Linked DNA regions of Homo sapiens: region 1 is linked to region 2. Evidence: promoter capture Hi-C in human tissues and cell types (Jung and others, 2019). All regions are on one chromosome and are shown on one strand. Each heading gives the region's core, a stretch centred on a gene start or on the middle of the fragment in contact. The rest is flanking DNA. Distances are from core to core; before and after follow the strand shown. Region 1 overlaps TBPL2 (TATA-box binding protein like 2). Region 2 holds the start of LGALS3 (galectin 3).

Region 1 (4,874 bases), core at 518-3,017, 300 kb before region 2:
CCCTTCTGGCCATTCAGGGCTCGAAAATGATGTGTGTGGTTCTTCCCAAGTGTCCATTCATTTCTTTTTCACCAGCATCTTCCTTGCAGAGCAGATCTAAGTCTAGAATAGGTGCCCCTTGTTATTACTACCAGCTTCTGGAAGGGTTGCCAGTAAGGCGCAGTGAGAATACATCAGACGGAGTGGGCCCATCCCTGTTCTATCTTCCTCCTGGGACAGTTTTATGATCTCAGTCATCTTTTCTTTTCTTTTCTTTTTTTTTTTTTAATCTGGCCAGGAAGCTTGCTTTGTATTCCCACAACTTTCTATTTCTAGTCTCATTCTTGCCTCCCCCTCATCCTCTCCATTCGGCTGTCAGCCTCAGGTTATGGATTACAACTCCAGAGTGTGTATTCTTGACACTGGGAACATTAAAAACACCTCTTAGAAGATTTGAATTTTTAACATGAGGCCTCTCTAATTGTCTGTAGCTCTGTGGGGAACCATGCTACATAATCAGTTATAATTATCAGGCCAAATTTGCCTTGTGTTAAACCCCTAAGGTCATTCAGTTTCCCAGGTTCTGCAAATTTGTATGTCAACATTTAATAATACAAGTATCTCCTTTTGTTACCAGGCACTTTCTCTGGTAATCTTTCTATGACATAATCATTTCCACAGTTGTCAATGAGAATTTTTCCCTCTTTATTTTATTTATTTATTTTTTTTTTTTGAGATGGAGTTTTGCTCTTTTGCCCAGGCTGGAGTGAAGTGGCATGATTTCAGCTCACTGCAACCTCCACCCCCCAGGGTTCAAGTGATTCTCCTGCCTCAGCCTCCTGAGTAGCTGGTATTATAGGCACCCACCACCACACCCGGCTAATTTTTGTATTTTTAGTAGAGACGAGGTTTTACCATATTGGCCAGGCTGGTCTTGAACTCCTGACCTCAGGCGATCCACCCACCTCGACTTCCCAAGTACTAGGATTACAGGTGTGAGCCACCGCACCCGGCCCCCTCTTTAATTTTTAATTCAAAGGTATCCTGATATAAATACTTGCTATATGAATAAGATCTAGGTGACTACCATGTAGCAGATGCTAGGATGATAATGGCAAGCAATATAGCTATAGTCCCTTGCCCACATAGAGATCACTGTCTAAAAGAAAAGATGGACAAGTCAATGACAGTAATGAAACATGGTGACTGTGAAGGTAAGGCCCTTCAGGGGCTATGAGACCATAAAGCAGGGTCTTTAATGTAATTGGGGGTGGGTAGAGATCAAGGAAGATTTTCTTGGGGAAGTAACATTTAAAATGAGACTTGAAGGATGGGTCAAAGTTGGGTTGGCCAAGAAATTGGCAGGTGTTCGATATTCTCAATCTTTGTGAAATGTTCTCCATCCCTAACCAAAACCACTCTCTTTCTCTGCCTCAGCCTTCTTTTGGAATGAGGCAGAGAATAAATAAAATGAAGTATATTCCTAATTGGGAGCACATTATACTGGTAATCTTAAAACCATGGTTCTAAAAGCTAAATGCAGTTCAATATCATTTACATACCAAAGTTTTTGTTTTCTCTTTTCTAAGTCTTAAAATTTAGCTGGAAGATCAAATGGAAATCTTCTTTTTGTGTCTCCAGCCTTCATTTTCTTGGCCTGGATCTCATAGCCCTGGAGGGTTTTTCAGGGCTCCCCCTAGTGTCATGGTCTCCCCAGTGTTGGGAAGTGGTTAGTGGGAGAAAGTCTTGACAGGCTCCCTGCAGTAAGACAGAGTGATGTTCCAGAAGACAGTTCCACCCACAATGACCTCCTATACTTGAGATGGGCAAGACTCACTTCAAGATGCGCCTTTCTGGAGCCAGTAAAAGGTTCCACATCTGCTGTTGTTTTTGGGTCTTGTTCATTGCTGAACTGAATGGAGCTTTTCCATGCAGTCTGGATTCACCCTTTAAGTGCAAAGATGCTAGTGTTCCATTGCTTGGATGTCTTTTTTTCTTATATTTCTTGTCCATTAGCCACTGCTTTGAGAATAGTTTTATTCACCTCCTCTCACTTCCTGACTTCTTTTTGGTAGGTTCCTCAAGCCTTTCTAAGAATCTGCCCTCCTCTCCAGGCTGGAGTGTGGAGAAGAAGCTCTTAAGTGCTATCATCTTTCGCTCCATGGAGTGGCCAGCTTATATTTAGTAGTAAATATGAGTTACTATTTATAGCAACAAATCCTGAATTGTAAAAACTCGGGATAATTGGATTTTCTTTATTTATATAGCACCTGTTCAAATACAAATAGCAGTGGCCTAGAAATATTTTTAGGTTCTATCTGCTAAAAATGTTAACTTCAGCAGTTCGTAAAAGCATACAAAATATGTTTATTATTGGAGAATTTGGAAACCCAGAAAAACATGATTATGTATTCTTATTAACAGACTTTTTTGAAAAGATAGAGGATGTTTAACCAACAAGCTCTCAATACACTAAATCAGATGCCCTAAGTTACCTTGATTTCTAATAACCATCCAGGATAGCTTGCACTTGTGTTATGACCCAAAATTAATTATGTTCCTAACTTCCATAAGATATTACCTAGGACACTCAAGACTCTTCATCAAGATAGTTAAAAAGTTTTTGATAAAATAGCTAACTTATTTACAACTGCTTTAATATGCACTTTAATATACTGGGCCTTACATGTTATGGGAAAGGAGCTGAATAGTGCTATTTTTAACATTTTCCTTTTACATCTTAACAGTTACGAGCCTGAACTGTTTCCTGGTCTTATTTATAGAATGGTAAAACCACGAATTGTGTTGCTTATCTTTGTATCTGGAAAAGTTGTGTTGACAGGTAAGTGCTAAGATTATTTTCTGACTCATAAAATGTAATTGCTATGCATGTGCTTTGCTTATTCTTTTAAATACCTTTGTTCACCATGGTAAAGTAATTCTTGTTATACAGAATACCTGGAATGAAAAATAAGAAAGGAATAACATCACCCATAGGTCCCAGTACCTAAAACAACATTTTTTTCATGTTTTTATGTCATTTTATTAAGTATTTCATCTTTACATCCTGATTTTTTTACAGAATTATCCATGATAACATATATGGCTTAAACTTACTGTTACAAACTCTTCATAAAGGCTTTTAATGGCCACACAAGGTCCTAACACAGGGGTTAACAAACTCTTTTCTGGAAAGGGCCAAATACTAAATATTTTAAGCTTTGTGAGCCACAGGGTCTGTCACAATTACTGAGCACTGCCATCGTAGTGTGAAAGCAGCTCTGAATGTTACATTATATAAAGGAATGGGCTCTGAAATGTGAATTTCATATCGTGACATAATTTATGTGTGTTATGTAATATTTTTTCCCCAACTGCTGAAAAAGATAAAAACCATTCTTAGCTCATAGGCTAACAAAATCAGGCAGCAGGATGGCTTTAGCCAGCAGACCTACCTTTGCTGAACCCATTCTAACATGTTATTGAATCAAACGTATTGTCCCATTGCTAGATAGGTAAATGTTCCTTCTTTGTTTGCTACTTATGAAGGGCAGACATTTGGCTGCTTTTACCTGTAGACAATTATGATATTAGTGTGGACACTCAGAAATGGGACTTTCGTTTAAGGCTATGTCCATTTTGTTCTTAGAACAAATCGCCCAATTGTTTTAAAGGGATATATGACATAGTTCTGTATCACATGGTCTTAAATGCAATGTATCTAAATATCTTTTACCAAATGCTTGGCAGCATTCCAAACAAAATGGTACCAAAGAAAACTTTAACTGTATATGTAAAAATTATCTCACTACTTTAACCCCACCGGTAATCAGAGACAGAAATCGACCATTTTTCAACACATCCAATAAATAGCATTTTGTCTCTTGTAAATAATATGTACATGACATAACTTATCCTTTTGTCTACTTAGCTTGTATTTTCTCGGGATTTGAGTTTACTATAATACTATTAAAGACAAATTATTCTTTGCTATATTTGTTATTTTTTCCTGTTGGCTTTTTTTTAAATAATTTTTGCATAAATAGCACTTTTTAAAACTACTTGAGGGAATGGTTCAGACTCTTTTCTATGTCATTCTACAGAAGGTTGCTATATATATTGTTGTTTGTTTGTTTGTTTTTGTTTTTGAGACAGAGTCTCACTCTGTTGCCCAGGCTGGACTATGGCGGCGCGATCTCAGCTCACTGCAACCTCCACCTCCAGCGTTCAAGTGATTCTCCTGCCTCGGCCTCCTGAGTAGCTGAGACTACAGGCACATGCCACCATGCCCAGCTAATGTTTTGTATTTTTCGAAGAGATGGGGTTTTGCCAAATTGGCTAGGCTGGTCTCGAACCTCTGGCCTCAAGTGATCTACCTGCCTTGGCCTCTCAAAGTGCTGGGACTACAGGTGTGAGCCACTGTGCCCCACCTACAGAAAGTTGCTATTTTATGACCGGGCGCGGTGGCTCACGCCTGTAATCCTAGCACTTCGGGAGGCCGAGGCAGGCGAATTATGAGGTCAGGAGTTCAAGATGAGCCTGGCCAACATGGTGAAACCCTGTCTCTACTAAAAATACAAAAAAAAAATTAGCTGGGCATAGTGGCAAGCGCCTGTAATCCCAGCTACTCAGGAGGCTGAGGCAGGAGAATCGCTTGAACCTAGGAGGTGGAGGTTGCAGTGAGCTGAGATCGCGTAGTCTACTTTTGTCTTTTTATACATTTCACTCTCCTCTACCATAATGAATGCCAAGTTTATGTGGCCTGAGCCAAACTGATCTCCATGCCCCAGTCCCAAATAGCTAGCCAACCAACTTAACGCTACATATCTTCTCATTAATTTTGGATGACTCCTTTTGACCTTTCTTTTACATATGTGGCTGTTCTTCGGTTCTGC
Region 2 (5,332 bases), core at 302-2,801:
CGGGGGTTCGAGACCAGCCTGACCAACATGGAGGGACCCCCCCCCCCCCACCACCACCACCACGAAAAATACAAAATTAGCCGGGCATGGTGGCGCATGCCTGTAATCCCAGCTACTCGGGAGGCTGAGGCAGGAGAATCGCTTGAACCCGGTAGGCAGAGGTTGCGGTGAGCCGAGATAGTGCCGTTGCACTCCAGCCTGGGCAACAAGAGCGAAACTGCGTCTCAAAAAAAAAAAAAACCTTAGGTAAACAAATCAGAACTTTGGAAGCTGACGAAAGCTTTTTCTTCTCAGGCCCTGTGCCCAAGTAGTTAATTGTATCAGTCTCATTTTCTTCAGAATTAACTGAGCCTTCTCCCATTTCTTCCCCAGAATCCTAGAGACAGCCTGAGTCACTGAGGTCCAGGTGTCCTCATTGCGCAGCAACCCAATTCCCAGAGTCACTTTACAAACATTCCGCAGTCTCTGGAACCCGCATGGCGAACTTGAAGGGTAAGGCTGAAACCTAAGTCCCAGCCTCCACCATGCGTCCCCGACTCCCTGGACCTGAACGCCTACTGCTCAGAGGGCAATCGTTTTAGTGTTTCTATTTGAGCACCCGATAATTCAGAATAAACTCTCAAACATGTTGTGAAAGCCCCCCGGTAGGGCTCTGCACGCTAGGACCAACATTTTGCCACACCCACCATTTCCTGGGCACAGACAGTCTGGGCAGGGAGGGGCATTTGATTCGGAAAAGCTTAGAGTTTGCAGTCTTTGCAAAGCCGGGTCATGCCCACTCAGGCCATGGGGCAAGCACCATTTTCTGTGGGATCAGCAACCAGACAGCGGCTGCAGCCCGGCCGCAGCTGGTCCCGGTGGAAGAACTCATTCGCGCTCCACAGCGAGATCTCCTCCAAGTCCAGCCTCAGCTGATGCTCAAAAGGGGCCGGGCCAGCCAAGCTGTGGGTCCCGGGAGGCGCCCTATGCAGTCCTGGGAAGTCCCTTCGCTCCCCCGCGGCCGTGATCTGGGGAAGGGTGACGGGGCTCCAACCCCAATTAGAGAAACTGGAGCGGCCGTCTGGTTTGCTGAGCGAGCCCCTCCGCCTCCCCTCGCAGCGGGACCTGGTGGGACTGGGGTGACCAGACTGCGGCTCGTCACCGGATGGGGCTTACTCTGGGGCCGCAGAGCGCAGGCGGCGGAGGTGCGACGGCGGCGAAGCCCACGAGGCTCCGCAGAAGGTGGCCCGTGCCGCCCCGGGGACGTGTGTGGGTCTCGTAAGGTGCTGCCAACCTTCCCCGAACGCCAGCGCCCTCGATAATCAAAGGCGACTGCCCCGGGCCCAGATCGCTGCCCGCCGCCCCGCTCCTGGAGGGCAGAGCACAGGCTGTGGGGCTCTCCGCGCGCGCCCCGGCCCGGTCCCGGGGAGCCGAACCCTCTCCGGACCGCGCCCCAAGCAGCGCCCGGGCGCCCTCTCCCCTGCCCGGCCGGAGCCGCGTCCCCCGCGCCCCGCGCAGCTCACCGCTCGTTGGCTGGCTCCGGACGGCTGCTGGCGAGGAGGTGCTGCGGGCGCCGGCGGGGCGGTGGCTCCGAGCCTCAAATACTCCCAGCCCCGCCCGGCCCGCCTCTCCCGAGGCGGGGCGGCGCCCCTGCCCAGCCAGTCCTCTCCCCGGACCAGGCTGGGCGAGCCCCGCGCCGGCCAGACACCCCGAGCCGCCGCCGCAGGGGCGACCAGGAAGCTCCCGACGGGGAGAGCGCGGGCACTGAGGGGCGCGACCTCCGCTGCCACCGTTAGGTTCCGTGGCGCTCCCGGGACCTGGGCTGCGGCCGCGTCTGTCCCCCGCCCTCTCCAGAATCACCTGAGTGAAGAATTCGCTGAGAGGAATTCAATTAATAGGTTGCTTTATTTGTAGAATACAAAACCAAAAATCTTTTCAATGTCTATTCCCTAGGGAACTGACTACAAATTGACTACTTATTCTAGATCAATAGGCCTAGTCTCAAAGCAATTCCCTTATAAAGCAATTAATCAGACAACTCTTTAACACATTTTACACAGGAAATTCACATTATATATATATATACCCTCCTTTTAACTTCACCTTATCTTTTTGTTGGAAGAAAGAGATAAGTATTATTATCTCATTTTTACTGTCAGGGTGCTATAGTCTGAATGTTTATATCCCGCCAAAGTTCATATGTTGAAATCCTAACCCTCACGGTGATGTATTAGGAAGTGGAGGCCTTGGGAAGTGATTAGGTCATAGGGGCAGGGTCCTTATGAATGAGATTGGTGCCCTAATAAAAGAGGCCGGAGAGAGACCCCTTGCCACTTCCACCTTGTGAAGACACAGCCAGAAGGCTCCCTCTGTGAACCAGAAAGCAGGCCCTCACCAGACATCAAATCTGCTGGCCTGGATCTTGGATTTCCCGACCTTCAGAACTGTGGGAAATAAATGTATATTGCCTATAAGCTACCCAGTTTATGATATTTTGTTACAGAAGCCCAAACAGACTAAAAGAGAAAATGATTTACTTATCCAAGCTCACTCATGTCTAGGAACAAAATCCAGAAATCCTGGCTCTTACACTTTACCTGGAAAAGCACCAGGCCAAAGAATCCTTGCAGGTTGGAACAAGGATCTCTGAGGAAAAAAAAAAAAATTAAGGGGGGTAGGGGAAGAATCTTTGCAGGGACTGGCTTATGTAAACTATGGAGAAAACCAGGTATCATCTGGTTCCTAAATAATTCCTGTAGCCCTTATAGTAACCAATTAATAACATAAAGATAAATTATTTCCTGCAGTTTTTCAACTTAGGGAAATGTTCCTGTGAAGGACTCACTTGATGGAATTGAGAAGCTGTCTTGGCATTCTCTAGGATAAACTTGAAAGTGTCTTAGTGGTTGGCACGGTTCCTGCAACATCGTCCCCTCTAGGCTTGCACATAGAAGTCACAGTGTGGCTGGGGATTATTTATGCAAGTTTGAACTCTTATCTGAAGAGGTAGCCTGGCAACCAATTTATTTGAATGGATCACCCATAGTAAATGACTAACCTCTGGGTAGTAAAAAGGTATCACCCAAAGGAATGCCCTTGGTCTCCAGGGAAAATGCTATAAATCTTAAGACTTTGAGTCATGAGGCCTCATGGCCAGGAGTGGTACCCTTAGAGGGTTAGCCATTGGTAATAAGAAAAGTAGATAGCCAAATGAATTGCTGTGGAGGCAAGGGATGAATCACACTCTTGCCTTTTCTTCTGGTCATTTCAGAGATAGACAAAGTTCATGCCCTGGCTACTTAGGGGGCTTGCTTACACCTGATTGTATGATCAGACATGCTTTTGGCTTCCCTTCCTTACTTGTACATCCCCATGAATACTTTGGTGCCAACTTCATGCCCCATAAAGCTAACAAAAGGATCCTGCTATGATCAGGGTGTGCCTGGGAATTTATAATTTGTACACATGCAATAAACGGCTCTTTATTACCCAATCCAAAGTCACATCCCTTTTCTAAGATAAGCGTAAAAAGGAACCCAATAAAATCAATTAAGATATCATTGAGTAACTTCTATGTACAGCTCACTGTGTTATTTGAAATAGGGACAAGGCAAGTGTTAGCCCTCAAACAAAAAGGCTGTCTGGTTTCTACGGATGCAGAGATTGTAAGCCGCTGATAAAAGCAAGGATTCTAAGAGAGGCATCTCCACAGGAGGGAAAGGAGGAAACTTGGGAAAGCAGGTGGCTGTCCAGAAGGTCAGGAGGGAAGCTGCGTGAGAACTTCAGTTAGAGCCAGAAGAGAGTAGGAGATGAAGATGAGAACAAAAAGGGAAAGTCTTTAAGGATAAGCAGAAAAGAGAAAGAAAGACAGTAATTGGAGAAGAAAGCAGAGCCGATTATTTATTTATTTATTTTATTTTTTTGAGACGGAGTTTTGCTCGGCTCACCGCAACCTCCACTCCCAGGTTCAAGTGATTCTCCTCCTGCCTCAGCCTCCCCAGTAGCTGGGATTACAGGCATGCACCACCACCCTGGCCAATTTTTAGTAGAGATGGGGTTTCTCCACGTTGGTCAGGCTAGTCTCAAACTCCCTACCTCAGGTGATCTGCCCACCTCAGCCTCCCAAAGTGCTGGGATTACAGGCGTGAGCCACTGCGCCCGGCAGCAAAGCCAGTTTTTTAAAGTCACCTTTTAAATAGGAAAATAGAACCAGAGAGAAAGGAAAAAGAGAGGAGAATAGAAGAATTATGAAAATATAAAAAGTGAGTGAACCTGGAACAAGCCAGAAAAGAGGAGAGAAATTTCCCAGAAATTAGCACTACAGTGGGCCAGATAGGGAAAGAATGTCTCACAAAAGCTGAAGTTCCTATGAAATATAAACAAAAATCTTGGTATTAAGTCGTGTAGACAGCAGAATACAGGAACAGCCAGAAAAGAGCAAAGCGGCTGCTTTCCAGTTTTCACATTTGGACCCTGGGCAGCCCAGGCAAGTTTGGCAATTCTGTGTCTACATGGTGTTAACACATCTGGGTGACAAGTGAAGAGTTGAGTCAGGCCTCAGGGCACTTGGTCTTTCTGGTGCCAACAACTGGAATCTGGGTGGCTGGCAGACTTAGGGACTGAAAGAGAGGCTGAGTGTTCTGGGGAACCATTTATGCCTTGAAGACAAAGTAATTTCCAGTTTCAGAACGAAATGACTGTGGCTGTCTGCTGTTTCTAGTCCCAGTTATCTATATGTACTTACTCATATCCAAGGCCTTTAGTGGGGGCCTAATATATGCCTCAACTATTTTGCAAAATCCACCCCTTCTAGCTTGCTGAATGAACAGGCTCACCAAAACCTGGTCAACAAATGAAATAGGGTTGGTGGCAGTAATGTGCCCAATGATGGTTTACAAGGTCTTACCACCTGGGTTGCAACTAGAGCCCCCTGGGACAGAGTGAGAGCCAGAACCTGCTTAGAAGGGAGCTAGCCCCTCCTGCCTTGGATGGGCAGGCCAACAGCATCAGGGAGAAGAGGTGTCCCAGGTGCCACCGCAGGTGCAAAACCCCTTCTCCAGCCCAACCTCAGCCCTGGCCACCTCAGCCTAACCTTCCTTGTTTGTCCTTCAAGCCTAACCCAGGCCTGTCTTCAGCACTAGCCATCACCAAACCCACATTCCCACCAGTCACTTCTGTCTATAGACAGGAAGTGGCTGCTGCCACTACTACTGCCCTTATTGCAGCCACACCCAGGGCTACGCTCTTAACCACGCTACAGCATTAACCTGCCTCTTGAGGAAGTATAAAACCAGGGAAAGGGATAGAGAGTGTGCCAGCTTGCTAAGGCTGCCATAACAAAGCACCAGGAACT

Evidence for each region. Contacts are between HindIII fragments. The study calls those that stand out against the background at their distance.
Region 1: a contact is called between a fragment that was not itself captured here and the fragment with the promoter of LGALS3 in region 2, in 2 of the 25 tissues and cell types used here (IMR-90 fibroblasts and aorta).

The regions. Positions count from the first base shown.
Region 1 is chr14:55,422,106-55,426,979 of GRCh38, reverse strand. TBPL2 (TATA-box binding protein like 2) reads left to right here. Exons shown (of 7, transcript NM_199047.3): 6 at 2,727-2,821. It also overlaps a transcript of FBXO34 not described here. Among named protein-coding and RNA genes, the nearest start is that of ATG14, 13 kb to the right of the region's middle. The HindIII fragment of the contact is 5,195 bases long and covers 1-4,364 here.
Region 2 is chr14:55,125,471-55,130,802 of GRCh38, reverse strand. LGALS3 (galectin 3) reads right to left here and starts at 1,551. Exons shown (of 6, transcript NM_002306.4): 1 at 1,503-1,551. RefSeq lists an enhancer at 716-905 and a silencer at 1,256-1,855. The HindIII fragment of the contact is 8,667 bases long and covers 511-5,332 here.